Regions from separate parts of the Homo sapiens genome. Here all the other regions are linked to region 1. The links are contacts of gene promoters, found by promoter capture Hi-C in blood cells and fetal thymus (Javierre and others, 2016). All regions are on one chromosome and are shown on one strand. The core of a region is centred on a gene start or on the middle of the fragment in contact, and the rest is flanking DNA. Distances in the headings are between cores, read along the strand shown.

Region 1 (2,786 bases), core at 204-2,703:
TGCAAGGCTTTCAACCGGCGCTTTTGTTAGAATACTACTATCTTCCCATTAAAGCAATGTCCACACTCAGTTTGCTTGGTGAAAATGTTAATAACGCACACTTAGAAAAACGGTGATAACCGTTGCTTGCATAAAGTGGCCATTTGAATAGACTTTGGATCTGATTTAGAGATTTAGGGATGGATGTTTTAAAAAAAGCAAAAGTAGTAACAGACTATAGCATTGGTAATGTGTGTGTGCATATATACATATTATTTTTAAAAAAATAAAGTTCGATTATTTCACCTGGCTTGTCAGTCACCTATGCAGGCGTCTGAGCCCCCGGGTTTCCAGGAGCCCCCCGTATAAGGACCCCAGGGACTCCTCTCCCCACGCGGCCGGGCCGCCCGCCCGGCCCCCAGCCCGGAGAGCTGCCACCGACCCCCTCAACGTCCCAAGCCCCAGCTCTGTCGCCCGCGTTCCTTCCTCTTCCTGGGCCACAATCTTGGCTTTCCCGGGCCGGCTTCACGCAGTTGCGCAGGAGCCCGCGGGGGAAGACCTCTCGTGGGGACCTCGAGCACGACGTGCGACCCTAAATCCCCACATCTCCTCTGCCGCCTCGCAGGCCACATGCACCGGGAGCCGGGCGGGGCAGGCGCGGCCCGCAAGGACCCCCGCGATGGAGACGCAACACTGCCGCGACTGCACTTGGGGCAGCCCCGCCGCGTCCCAGCCGCCTCCCGGCAGGAAGCGTAGGTGTGTGAGCCGACCCGGAGCGAGCCGCGCCCTCGGGCCAGCGTGGGCAGGGCGCCGCAGCCTGCGCAGCCCCGAGGACCCCGCGTCGCTCTCCCGAGCCAGGGTTCTCAGGAGCGGGCCGCGCAGGAGACGTTAGAGGGGGTTGTTAGCGGCTGTTGGGAGAACGGGTCACGGAAACAGTCCCTTCCAAAGCCGGGGCCATCGTGGGGTGGGCGAGTCCGCCCTCCCAGGCCGGGGGCGCGGACCAGAGGGGACGTGTGCAGACGGCCGCGGTCAGCCCCACCTCGCCCGGGCGGAGACGCACAGCTGGAGCTGGAGGGCCGTCGCCCGTTGGGCCCTCAGGGGCCTGAACGCCCAGGGGTCGCGGCGAGTCCACCCGGAGCGAGTCAGGTGAGCAGGTCGCCATGGCGATGCGGCCCCGGAGAGCGCACGCCTGCCGCGGTCGGCATGGAAACGCTCCCGCTAGGTCCGGGGGCGCCGCTGATTGGCCGATTCAACAGACGCGGGTGGGCAGCTCAGCCGCATCGCTAAGCCCGGCCGCCTCCCAGGCTGGAATCCCTCGACACTTGGTCCTTCCCGCCCCGCCCTTCCGTGCCCTGCCCTTCCCTGCCCTTCCCCGCCCTGCCCCGCCCGGCCCGGCCCGGCCCTGCCCAACCCTGCCCCGCCCTGCCCCGCCCAGCCGGCCACCTCTTAACCGCGATCCTCCAGTGCACTTGCCAGTTGTTCCGGACACATAGAAAGATAACGACGGGAAGAGCGGGGCCCGCTTTGGGGTCCAGGCAGGTTTTGGGGCCTCCTGTCTGGTGGGAGGAGGCCGCAGCGCAGCACCCTGCTCGTCACTTGGGATGGAGACCGGCTTTCCCGCAATCATGTACCCTGGATCTTTTATTGGGGGCTGGGGAGAAGAGTATCTCAGCTGGGAAGGACCGGGGCTCCCAGATTTCGTCTTCCAGGTAACGTGGGTTTAGTATCCCGACTTGGAGGCTTGTCAGAATGTTTCTCTCCTTCCAGCCCAACACGAAGTCTTGGGATAAAAAGCCTCCCTCAGGGATTCAAATAACTGTTTTGATTCAGAGCAACTTTGATCGCCTGTGCGGTCGCACCTGCCCTTTCAGCCCCAATAATTACTGGGAAGATCAGCAATTGGTGTTAGTCCCATTGCTTGGTGCTCTCCCTCCTAGAGGTTCGCTGTGTCCTTGGAGCCCGGGGTGGACGGAATCGACTAAACAGCTTGTCTGTTTCTCTTTCCCTGGTAGCAGCAGCCCGTGGAGTCTGAAGCAATGCACTGCAGCAACCCCAAGAGTGGAGTTGTGCTGGCTACAGTGGCCCGAGGTCCCGATGCTTGTCAGATACTCACCAGAGCCCCGCTGGGCCAGGATCCCCCGCAGAGGACAGTGCTAGGGCTGCTAACTGCAAATGGGCAGTACAGGAGGACCTGTGGCCAGGTAATGACTCAGACGCATTGAGAATGATGCTTGTGGAGAACAGCTCTCCTGCTTTGGTGCCAGGTGCTTTTCTCTTGCCCTTGTACCTACAACTCCCCCTGAGTATTACAACCCTGGAATCTGGACTACAGGAAAGTTGATTGATTTATTTTCTTTCTTTCTTTCTTTCTTTCTTTCTTTCTTTCTTTCTTTCTTTCTTTCTTTCTTTCTTTCTTTCTTTCGTTCTTTCTTTCTTTCTTTTCTTTCTCTTTCTTTCCTTCTTTCTTTTTCTTTGTTTCTCTTCCTTCTTCCTTTCCTTTTTTTTTCTTTCCTTTCCTTTCCTTCTTTTTTTTTTTTTGAGACGGAGTTTCGCTCTTGTCGCCAGGCTGGAGTGCAGTGACGCGATCTCGGCTCACTGCAACCTCCACCTCCCGGGTTCAAGCGATTCTCCTGCCTCAGCCTCCCGAGTAGCTGGGATTTCAGGCACCCACCACCACGCCCGGCTAATTTTTGTGTTTTTAGTAGAGATGGGATTTCACCATGTTGGCCAGGCTGGTCACCAACTCCTGACCTCAGGTGACCCGCCCACCTCGGCCTCCCAAAGTGTTGGGATTACAGGCGTCAGCC
Region 2 (2,786 bases), core at 194-2,693, 640 kb after region 1:
AGGCCGTCTGTGGGATCTGTACCCTTGAGGTCAGGAAGGCCCCCCTGTCCCCACAGGCTCGGGGAAGCCTGCTCCTGCCTGGCCTCTCCCTGTTCCCTGCACTGCTTTGATCTTGGAGCTGGGTTGGGGCCAAGCTCAGGGCAGTGCTGACACGCCAGCCCCCTGCTGCCTAGACCCCCTCCGGACTTTGGGCACTGAGGAGTACAGGGGAAGCCGAGGGGTGGCTGAGAGCAGCTTGGTGCTGGCCTACAGGTGCCCCTTGACTCGAGCATTCTGGGCTCCATGGACAGCTGCAGGAGGCAGACAGGCTGTTAAGAGGGTAGAAGGGGGCAGGTCCCTGGTTAGGCCAGGGAAGGCCTGAAGGCTTGGGGCTGACTGCCCATCCAGTTGATAGGAGTGGGAGGTGGTGGCTTTTCTGGCCACCCGCCATGGCCTCTCATAGACCAATCAGCGGGCACTTCTGAGGCCATAAAAGCCCAGGACTCAGCCAGAGCTGAACAGATGACGGGATGACCAGCTGCAGAGAGGAGCTACCCTCTCTGCTGGTAGCTGGACCATGGGAGGAACAGCTGCAGAGAGGAGCCACTCTCCCTGCCAAGAGTGAACACTTGTTGGGACGACTTGCCTGCAGAGAGGAGCTACCAGCTCTCAGTTAGGAGCTGAACACTTGACGGGACATCCTGGCTGAGGAAAGGAGCTGCCCCTTGTGGGAGACTGAGCTGTTCTATCGCTCAATAAAGCTCTTCATCATCTTGCTCACCCTTCACTTGCATGCGTACCTCATTCTTCCTGGTCACAAGACAAGAACTTGGGACCCACTAAATGGCAAGGCTAAGAGAACTGTAATACAAACAGGGCTGAAACATGCCCCTTGCTCCCCACGTTACAGGCAGAGAGAAGGAGAGCTGTGGCCCTTTGGGGAGTCTAGACCTGGGAGCTCCCTGAGCCAGGGCTGTGACTCCTTCTTTGAGGCCCTGTGGTTCCTGGCATCTCCAAGCTTCCAGGCACCACTGCTTTCCCTGGTGCCAGCCAGGGAAGCTCCTTGTGGTGCGCCCTGTCCAGCTGCAGCCTCACTGAGAGCCGGCGCCTATGCTGGCATCTGGAGCTGCCCGCCCCATGGCAGCAGCTGCATGTCTGACTGCGCAGTGGCCAGACCCCGTGCTCACACACACAACTCTTGCTGCTCCATGCTTGACTCACTGTCTCCCTTGGAGGTGTGGGATCCAGGCCAGTAGCATGAGCTGAGTACAGCCTGCTAGGCCAAGTGGGCAGAACGAGCCCAGTGGGCTGAGCAAAACTTGGGCAAGGCCTCCACCAGCCACAGGTTTCCAGCCAGGAGAAGGACACCTCAAAGATCCCATAACATTACCAAACTTGAAAGAGATTTCCCTAATCAAAATTATTAATTTATTGATAATTAGCAGAAAGATAATAGCTGAATCCAAGGAAAAGAAGAAGGTGGGTAGGCTATAAAGGCAAGAGAGCCCTTATATAATAAAGGCAACAGAACTTACAAAGATGCCTGATAAATGTCAGGTGCATTGCTAATTCCCTTGTTTCGACAAGGGAAGATTTGGGGCTTGAAAAAATACCTGGAGTTGCTGGTGTTTTAGTGAATATTCAATTTATTAAAATTATGAGTTTATAAATTTAGATTTCTTAAGACTTTAATCTCAAAATGCTAATTTTATTATAAATTCAGAAACTTATTTCAATTAAAAAGTCTCTTTTTCTTAACACCTCAGGGGATTCTTAAGTGCCCTGGAGTGTGAGAATCATTGTTCTGTAATGTATAATAATTTTCAGCCTTTTTTTTTTAAATAAGTAAGGTTTCTAAATTCCAATTAATGAATCTCTATTGACTTGTTTTCTCAGTGAGGCTGTCAAAGGGAAGCTTGATAGCTTTGGCATGAAATTCCATAGCATGTGTGGTTCTCATTGACATATGCTAAACCTGTTTCCTCCAGCCAGCAGTGGTTTCAGGGGAGTGTGTCTGACTTTTTCCTGAGGGTGACCCTGATAAAGAAAGAGAGAAAAAGAAAAGAATAATAAAGCAGGCATTGAAAGCAGAGAAACGTAGTGGTCCCCACTGTAGAATTTGATTCATTTCTTGCCCCTTTCTTCCTTTATCCAGGCAAACTTATTGAACAGGCATTCGTATAACTGGGCCACTGCCTGCAGAACATCGCCAGGATTTGCTCTGATTCACGTTTGCATCTATTAAAACATAACCTTTGGCACATTAAAAACTAAGAGTTTATTTGAGCAGACTGTGACCATGAAACAGGCAGGGAATGGCTAGGGGCTCACACAGAAATAGAGGCTCCTGGAAGAGGTTGAAGGAAAAACTTTTATAAGGTGAATGTGAAAGCAAAGAAATTATTTGTCTGGTTAAAGTTTGAGCAATTGCCTTATTTGGACTATTTCAGTGAAAGATTCAAGACAATATAAATAATGCCCAATTGGCCATTTGTGATTTGCTGAGATAAAGTTTAAAATTCCGTTAGGTTTCAGTTTGCTTATGTAGGAATCCAGGGTGTCAGAGCCACTTCAGTCTAATGGCCTCCCATTTAGTTATTTTAACACATCTCTAATGCCTACTCCAATCTTGGTGCTCAATATTCATTCATTAATAACTATTTCCTGAGAGCCTCTAATATACTAGGTATGCTTCTAACTGCTGGGAACATTAGCAGTGTCCAAAGGGATAAACATGTAGGCCCTCAGAGAGATACTTCCTAGAGGGAGAAATGAATAAATGAGAACACATAGTACATTATGTGTCT
Region 3 (2,786 bases), core at 101-2,600, 580 kb after region 1:
AAAGAAAACTTCATTTTTCAGTGCATCTGTATTTATTGTTTAATGCTACCTAGATAACGCCTAAGGCTTTTATAAAGCTTCACTGAAACAATTTTTTAAAGCTTAAAACACCCTTTGTAACATAAACATAGTGCTGGAACTTTTAGTCAGCAGACTAAGTCAAGAAAAGGAAATAAAAGGTATATAGATTTTATAGGAAAAAATAAAATTGTCCTTATTTTCAAATGGCACAACTGTCTATATGGTAGAAAACCCTAAGCAATCTCCAAAACAGCTCCTAGAAGTAGTAAGTCCAGTAAGAGGGCACAAAACAAGACCAATATACAAAAATCAACACTATATATACTAGTAATGAACATGTGAAAACTGAAATAAAAAAAATACCATTCACAATTACTCAAAAAAAAAGAGAAAAGCTTAGGTATTAATCTTAAGTCTAAGAAAACATATACAGGGCTTGTATACCAAAAACTACAAAACATTGACTTTGGTCTAGATAAGGACATATACTATGTTCATGTACTGGAAGACTCACATCATAAAGATGGCAGTTCTTCCCCCAAACTGATCAACAAGTTTAACTCAATTCTTTTAGAAATGCTGGCAAGGTTTTTGTAGATATAGACAAGATGACTTTAAAATGTATATGGAAAGGTAGAGAACCTACATTAGCTACAACAATTTTGAAAAATGGTATGGGAGAAAACACTGCCCAATTTTAAGACACTACAATGAACAAGACAGTGTGGTATTGGCTGAAGGAGAGACACATAGATTAATGAAACAGAACAGGGAACCTAGAAATAGACCCACTCAAATAGACCCAACTGACTTTTAACAAATGTGCAGAAGTAATTCAATTCAGAAAGAATAGCTGTTTTTTTTCTTTGTTGTTGTTTTCTTTTTTTTCAACAAATGGTATTGAAACAATTGGATACTGATAGGAAAACAAAAACAAACAAAAACAAAACACGGACCTAAGTTGCACATCTTGTACAAAAATTAACTGAAAATGGATCATGGATTCAAAATAAGAAACTATAAAACTGTTAGAAAAAAAACACAGGAGAAAATCTTTGGGACCTAGAGCTAGGTAAAGAGTTCCGAGACATGAAAACTAGAGGATATTCCATAAAGAAAAGATACTGTTAACTTGGACTTCAGCAAAATTAAAAACTTTTGCTCTGCAAAAGACATCCTTTGGTACCACCTAAAATAGTGTCTGAAGTAACATTTCAGTATATAATTGCAAGCCAAACATTTCAAAAGTTACATTTATCTTGAGGGGATCTCCCTGGATATAAAAGATTGGACAAAAGAGCACAGAGCTGAAAGGAGGACACATTATTGAATTTGGAACCCAGTTCATGAAATGAACAACAGAATAAGGCAGACCACATCACCACCATAACGGAGCTATGATAAAACAAACAAAAAAACTCAAAATGCAAAAAAACTACAGGTGATATCAATTTCCCCCCAAAGCACTCCACAAACCTAATGTAGACTATAAGCCACCACCACAAATGGAATATTCAAACAAGGAGGAATAATGATTAAACAAACATCTTGAAGAAGAAAACAAATACTAAGAAATAAAAGGACTCAGGCTAAAACTAAAAGGATGAAAAAAGACGTACTAAGCTAACGTTAATCAAAAGAAAGAAACAAGAAATATTACCAGAGATAAAGAAGGTCATTTATTAATGATAAGGGGTAAATTAATCAAGGAAATAACAATCCTAAATGTATATGCACCTAACAATATGGGCTCAAAAAACAACCTTTAGCAAAAGGAAAAATAGAAATTTTCAGTTTTGGTTGAAGACTTCAACACTTCTCTCAGTAACTGATAAAACATACAGAAAGAAAAGGATATAGAAGACCTGAATGATGCCATCAAATACCTTGATCTAATATGGAACACTCCTAACAGCAGAATATACATTTTTTCAGCCATATATGGAGTATTCATCAAGACAGATCACGTTCTCAAGCATTAAACAAACCTCAACAAACTTAAAAGAACCAAAAATATGTTTTCAGATCACAGTGGATTTAAACTAGAAATCAACTGCAGAAAGATATTTGGAAAATTCCCAAGTATTTGGAAATCAAACATATCTAAATAACTGATTTAAGAGGAATCCATAAGAAAATTCTGTGGAACAAAATGAAGGCACAGCATATCAAAATTTGTGGAAAGTGGCTTAAGCAGTACTGAGAAGGAAATGTGTAACATTAATTGTTTATTTTAGAAAAGAATGACCTCAACACAATAATCTAAGCTTCCACTTACGAAACTACAAACTATCATCCAAGAAAACATTCCAGAAATAAAGAAGTGACTCTACACATTAAAAGGATCCACAGGAAAAACATGGAAAAATCAATTCTGACACACACACCAGTGAAAATATTAGACAAGCATTCAGGGCCTCTAGGCAAACTGCTTAAATAAACTTACAAGAGCAAGATAATTAGACTGGCATCAGATTTCTCAAAAACATATAAAGCAAGTCAACAGTAGGAAGAGTTCTTAATAAATTTAAAGGAGACCTAAAACTAGAGAACATTTATAAGAAAACAAGTGAAAATGCTTCAGGACATTGGATTTGGCAATGATCTTCAATATGATACCAAAAGCACAGGCAAGAAAAGTAAAAAGAGAAAATGAACTACATTAAAATAAAAAAAAAAAAAACTTCTGTGCAATGGATGCAATCAAGAGTGAAAAGACAACAAATGGGAGAAAATATCTGGAAATCAAACATCTGATATATGTG
Region 4 (2,786 bases), core at 111-2,610, 540 kb after region 1:
TAAGAACATAAGATTATTATCACTGGATTCCAGACTTTCACATTTAAGATTTAGTAAAAGATAGGATCTTTCTAAAAAATAAAATAACAAAATTTTTTTTAGAGACAGAGACGCCTTCTGTTGTCCAGGCTAGAGTCCAGTGGTGTGGTCATGGTTCACTGCAGCCTCAAATTCCTGGGATCAAGTGATCCTTCTGCCTCAACCTACAGAGCAGCTGGGATCACAGGCGTGTGCCACTATACCCAGCTTCTTTAAGACACGATCTTTTAAAATGTTCCTTAGTTAAGGCAATAGACTCAAGTAATGATGCGTTACTTACATACATAAGCAACCTATTAAGAGTCTATTAGAACATTTAATATCTCATACTATGGGATAAAGGTCCCTTCCTCCTTTTGGCTTTTGCTTTTCAAAATTATAATTTTTAGTATCGTTCTTCCTTTGCATGGCTTTTTCCATCAACACCAAACAGAACCACAGTGGAACAGAGTAACAAAGAAAAAGCACCAAATCAGGCGAGGTGCGGTGGCTCACACCTGTAATCCCAGCACTCTGGGAGGCCGAGGCAGGTGGATTGCTTGAGGTCAGGGGTTCAAGACCAGCCTGCCCAACATGGCGAAACCCCATCTCTACTAAAAATACAAAAATTAGCCAGGCATGGTGGCACACGCCTGTAGTCCCAGCTACTTAGGAGGCTGAGGCAGAAGAATCGCTTGAACTTGGGAGGCACAGGTTGCAATGAGCCGAGATGGCGCCACTGTACCCCAGCCTGGGTGACAGAGTGAGACTCCAACTCAAAAAAAAAAAAAAAGAAAAAAAGAAAAGAAAAGAAAAAGCACCAAACTAGGAGGCCTATATTGGAATCCTGGCTCCGTTACTAATTAGCAGGGTGACCTTCAACAAGTTACTTCAGCCCTCTAAGTCCATTTCCTGATAAAATGAGAATAATGCCTACCTCACAAAGTTATTATAAGGATTAAATGAGATTATTTTAAAGAATATAGCGAAGTGTTTGGCACAGAAAATAACAGGAACTCAATAATGTTCTTCATACAGGAAGAAAGCTTGAAAGCTTACTTTACTCTCCTGACCACAATTTTACTTATGTATTAAATAGGGCAGGAAGGAAAGGAAGAATAAAATACTTATCTATATGGTATGTAAAACAAACTTTTAAAAATGATCTAGCACTTCTCATTTATCATCTAGAATCATTAGTTATGGGTTGATGTAAATATGTCTTACCTCTCTAAGTAGATAGGGCAGAAACCTCATCTTAAAATACTTTAGGAATCTCACAACAGCTTGCTCAGTGCCTTCCATACAAAATACTTCCAATAAATACTGGTTGACTGATTAAACCTCCAAAAGAGCACTTATGCTTAGGAAAGGAACAAATAGAAATTGAAAGATAGAAAAATAAAAATTAAAGGTAGAAAAACAATACCTATAAATTATTCTCCTTGAGTGATTTTTAATGTGATTTGAGTGAGCTTATTTGTTCGCAAATAAAACTATTCATGACTGCTCTGGCTTGGATGTTAATAACAGGATTTTTGTTTGCTTTAGGATAATGGCTATTTTTTAAAAAGCAGAAAAATGTAGAGTTCACATGAAGACCTTAAGTTATTTGATTTCTAACATATTTAAAAGCTTAACAAGGTTAGTCACAAACAAGATAATCTTGTTTTTGTTTTTAGAACTTTGCAAAATATCTTAAAATTTAGAAGATACCTAAAATATAGGATAGACTTATTTAGTTAAGTGAAGCTACTAAAAGAGAGAAGGCTTATATGATCTTCTGAAATGGCCATTTAAAACATTAAGGAAAACAATTTTCACTGTTTCAGTGTTAACGCTAGTATCTTCAATGTTTATAAAATGTAAACAAGAAATTAATTCAGGTGAAATTTAAAGGTGACTTCTAATTTCATTAACTTAAAATAAGAAGTTCAAAGAAGTCCCAGGACTTAAGCAAAGACTCTTTAAACAAAAACTAAAAACATTAAGTAACCACTAATGGATTCTATTTTTGAATCCTTTTAAAATGATAAATTCAAGAATAGCCAGACCATATATAAACATTACCGTTATACAGAACACATGGGAATGTAAGCACTTTTAAGGATGATACAAGACTCTATCAGGGCAGTGTCATGTTTGTCTTCCAAGGGAGCAGTAAAAGAGGTGGTAGAATAATTGAGAAATGTAGAAAAATATCAAGGAAAGATGTTTCTGAACATTAGGCAATAAGCTACCGAAGTTGTCATTTGCTATCTTGATTAGTTCTTTTATAATTTTCTCATTGTCCACAGATTGATCACCATGCAGGGGTTTATTACTGACAGCACACGAAGGGAAATGGAAAGCCATGCTGCAGTTTTCTAGACATGAGGCGGATGCATGTCTTGTGCCTTCTTGGAGACAACCTTTTGTGAGACAGCTATGATTCTATAAGAATAAGCTGGACTTGAACAAGCCTACTGAGCAGTAGTTGTCATAGCATCTGCAGCGGACAACCAATGATCTCTAGTGAGTATCAAAGGTTATCCCTTCTTTCTATAGAATGGCAGCCAATTCTGTGGGAATCAAGAACACTAAACCAAACACTTGGTTTTAGAGCTGAAAGAATGGATGGATGGAGACAAGATGAATTATAAATATGTGGTTCCTGCGATTGATCCCTTGATACCTGGCTAAGAGCAGTACTAGGTAAAAGATTTAGACCATAGCATAAGTCTCATTTAAATACTAGTGTATTTCTAGGAAAAATTCAGAGTTTTCAA
Region 5 (2,786 bases), core at 93-2,592, 520 kb after region 1:
CCTCCCACCTTGGCCTCCAGTGCTAGAGATGAGTAAGACTATAAGGAAATGAACACCTTTGTGACTAAGTCTGTATTCTTGCCTTTAACATATAATTTCCTAAAGTTTCATAGGCTGAAATAGGTTTCTTTGATTTGGATAAATTTATGTACATTTAAACTTATACCCTAGCTTTATTTTTAAATCTCTGAAAACTGTTACATGATTGTAGTTTATAGTTAAGTTCATGAGAGTTATGCAGGCACTTTAGGGTAAGAATAGCTTCTGTCTACAAAAATTATGTTTCTCAGAATTATAATGATAATGAAGCTAAACAAACAAAAGAAAATCTGACTTTTTAAATAAACATCTTTTAAAAATCATTTATATCCAAAGAGATATATAATTTTTTACTTATGGAAAGTTATTTCTTTAAAATTATCAAAAGGCAGACAATGACAAGAAGTTTATTTCAGCTTTACTTAAAATTTTAGTTTCAAATGAAATGAAATGTGACACTGAAGCATAAGAACACAACTGAAGACTGCAAACAACCTAATTCATTTTCCGAGTTTGCTCAAGCCTCCAGGCACCAGTCAAATATCGAAGTCGTATAAAAAGTAGGTCTTTACCCATTTGTAGCCAGCTCCAGAATGGAACTAATTTAGAACCTGTGATTTAAAAATAATTAAAAACAAATTAGCTTAAATAAACTCAGCAGAAAACGTATCAGTTTAAAGTCAGTCTACATGATCGTTGTGAGCCTTTAGCACCTTAATTTTTTAAATCATGGACCAAAAAGTTAAACAATTTCAAAGCTGAAGTGAGTGGAGTGGTTTTCTCTAAAAACAAAAACAGAACATCTTGAAGTGAAATGAAACTTGAGAGGATCTAAATAGTGAAAATTTCATACGGCCCTACTATAGAAAGGAAGGACTACATATGGTGAGGGCTCTAGAAGTCTAATAAAAAAACTACTCACTGAGTGCTCATTACTGAAAATAATTACATATGAAACAACTAAAGATACAGCACAACAGATAAATATGATTATTTCTACATAAATCCAATCTTAATGATAAAAAATAAAGCCTATGATCAGACTTAAGATAATTTTGTCCAGACCTCTTTGTCTCGGGCTACACAAGAACACCAGCCTAATTAAATATCTGATCCACATATCACAGCAGATTCTTTTTTTGTTTTTTTTTTAAACAAGATCTTGCTCTGTCACCCAGGCTGTAGTGCAGTGACACGATTATGGCTCACTGTAACCTTGACCTCCCGGGCTCAAACGATCCAGTCCTCCTACCTCAGCCTCCCCAGTAGCTGGGAGTACAGGAGGCACGCACCACACCTGCCTAATTTTACAATTTTTTTATAGAGATGAGGTCTCACTGTGTTGCCCAGGCTGGTCTCAAACTCCTAGGCTCAAGTGATCCTCCCAACTTAGGCTCCCAAAGTGCTGGGATTACAGGCATGAGTGACTGCACCCAGCCACAGCAGATTCTTATAACCATTACTTATAGTATATACGTGCAGATAAAGTATCAGGAGGAAGGTTTAACATTTCATTATCATTTTAATTATACTTTATATTTAAAGAAGACCTTTTTCACTGCTCTGAATTTATATGACAGCTTTCTTCTGAAAACATTACCACCAAAGCACTGTAGAGACATTATCGTTTATCAGGGCCAAAAATTATCTTCATCCCACAAATGAGGAAGTTGAGGTACCTACAATTCATATTACAAGACAACTATCTCTGTAATGCAAATAAGCAAATGACTAAACATAAAATGGACTTTTACTTTTCCCCACCTCATCTTCCCATAGAGTCTAGGTTGGCCAAAGATCAACACAAATCAACAAAGTTGATCATGATACCCCTGAGTGATCCTTTGACCTGCTTCCCAATCCCCTTTGATTCTAGGCAGCTACTGTGGAGATGAGCTAAGATTTTGTAAACTCAGTTTGATTCAGCAAGATGTAAAGAGGTTTGAATTCATCCTAGACTATACAGTTTGTATAATCTCGAGATTGGTTCTTAACCTTTTTCTGTCCCTAAACATCTGAGGTTACAGAGCAATAATGGTTTACTGCAACAAGGACTCTCACCAGAAGAGCTGGACTTCGAAAAAGTCTCCAGTTGATTATGTTAACTGCTCCCACACTGTGAATTAATTTAGGTTCATTCTAAGGTAAGGAGAAAACTAGAATATGTTTAAAATTCTATACAGCCAGAGCTGTCTAAGCCTTTTAAAATAGGAATTATTAAGATTTATGATAGATTTCAAGTTATTATAGAGTTGGGATCTTTATACTTTTGGATATATGTACAGATATAGTTTTTAAATGGCTCTGGATTGACTGTGGACATTTGGAGTAAAAACACTTTTAGTTATTTATTTTTTCAGATGGAGTTTCACTCGTTGCCCAGGCGGGAGTGCAATGGTGCAATCTTGGCTCACCGCAACCTTTGCCTCTCGGGTTCAAGCAATTCTTCTGCCTCAGACTCCTGACTAGCTGGGATTACAGGTGCCTGACACCACGCCCGGCCATCTTTTTGTATTTTTTAGTAAAGACGGGGTTTCACCCTGTTGGCCAGACTGGTCTTGAACTCCTGACCTTAGGTGATCCACCCCCTCGGTCTCCGAAAGTGCTGGGATTACAGGCATGAGGCATGGTGCTCGGCCATAAAAAAAATTTTTATTTCTTATTTAGCTTTGCATAGTGGTTTGCAGGTACCTAATTAATATCCACCTAGTGATAAAAAAAATATAGGAAATGGTGATGCAAAAAAT

What was found. The method cuts DNA at HindIII sites, captures the fragments that hold promoters and counts their contacts. A CHiCAGO score of 5 or more calls a contact.
Region 2: a contact is called between a fragment that was not itself captured here and the fragment with the promoter of CCNA1 in region 1, in 2 of 17 cell types (M1 macrophages and total B cells). The highest score is 8.4, in M1 macrophages.
Region 3: a fragment that was not itself captured here is called in contact with the fragment with the promoter of CCNA1 in region 1 in 1 of 17 cell types (M0 macrophages); the score reaches 7.8 in M0 macrophages.
Region 4: a contact is called between a fragment that was not itself captured here and the fragment with the promoter of CCNA1 in region 1, in 8 of 17 cell types (M0 macrophages, naive B cells, erythroblasts and 5 more). The highest score is 11.6, in M0 macrophages.
Region 5: a fragment that was not itself captured here is called in contact with the fragment with the promoter of CCNA1 in region 1 in 5 of 17 cell types (M0 macrophages, total B cells, erythroblasts and 2 more); the score reaches 9.1 in M0 macrophages.

Annotation. Positions count from the first base shown.
Region 1 is chr13:36,431,042-36,433,827 of GRCh38, forward strand. It overlaps CCNA1 (cyclin A1), which reads left to right and starts at 1,454. Exons shown (of 9, transcript NM_001413923.1): 1 at 1,454-1,688; 2 at 1,992-2,180. The coding sequence starts at 2,016. RefSeq lists silencers at 758-827, 1,108-1,157, 1,188-1,347. The HindIII fragment of the contact is 15,627 bases long and covers 1-2,786 here.
Region 2 is chr13:37,069,995-37,072,780 of GRCh38, forward strand. No RefSeq gene overlaps it. Among named protein-coding and RNA genes, the nearest start is that of SUPT20H, 12 kb to the left of the region's middle. The HindIII fragment of the contact is 897 bases long and covers 996-1,892 here.
Region 3 is chr13:37,012,482-37,015,267 of GRCh38, forward strand. The region is part of intron 23 of SUPT20H (SPT20 homolog, SAGA complex component); the gene reads right to left. Among named protein-coding and RNA genes, the nearest start is that of EXOSC8, 13 kb to the left of the region's middle. The HindIII fragment of the contact is 1,872 bases long and covers 415-2,286 here.
Region 4 is chr13:36,966,427-36,969,212 of GRCh38, forward strand. All of the region lies in intron 7 of ALG5 (ALG5 dolichyl-phosphate beta-glucosyltransferase), which reads right to left. Among named protein-coding and RNA genes, the nearest start is that of ALG5, 32 kb to the right of the region's middle. The HindIII fragment of the contact is 581 bases long and covers 1,071-1,651 here.
Region 5 is chr13:36,949,408-36,952,193 of GRCh38, forward strand. ALG5 (ALG5 dolichyl-phosphate beta-glucosyltransferase) reads right to left here. Exons shown (of 10, transcript NM_013338.5): 10 at 331-650. The coding sequence ends at 535. Among named protein-coding and RNA genes, the nearest start is that of SMAD9, 31 kb to the left of the region's middle. The HindIII fragment of the contact is 3,861 bases long and covers 1-2,786 here.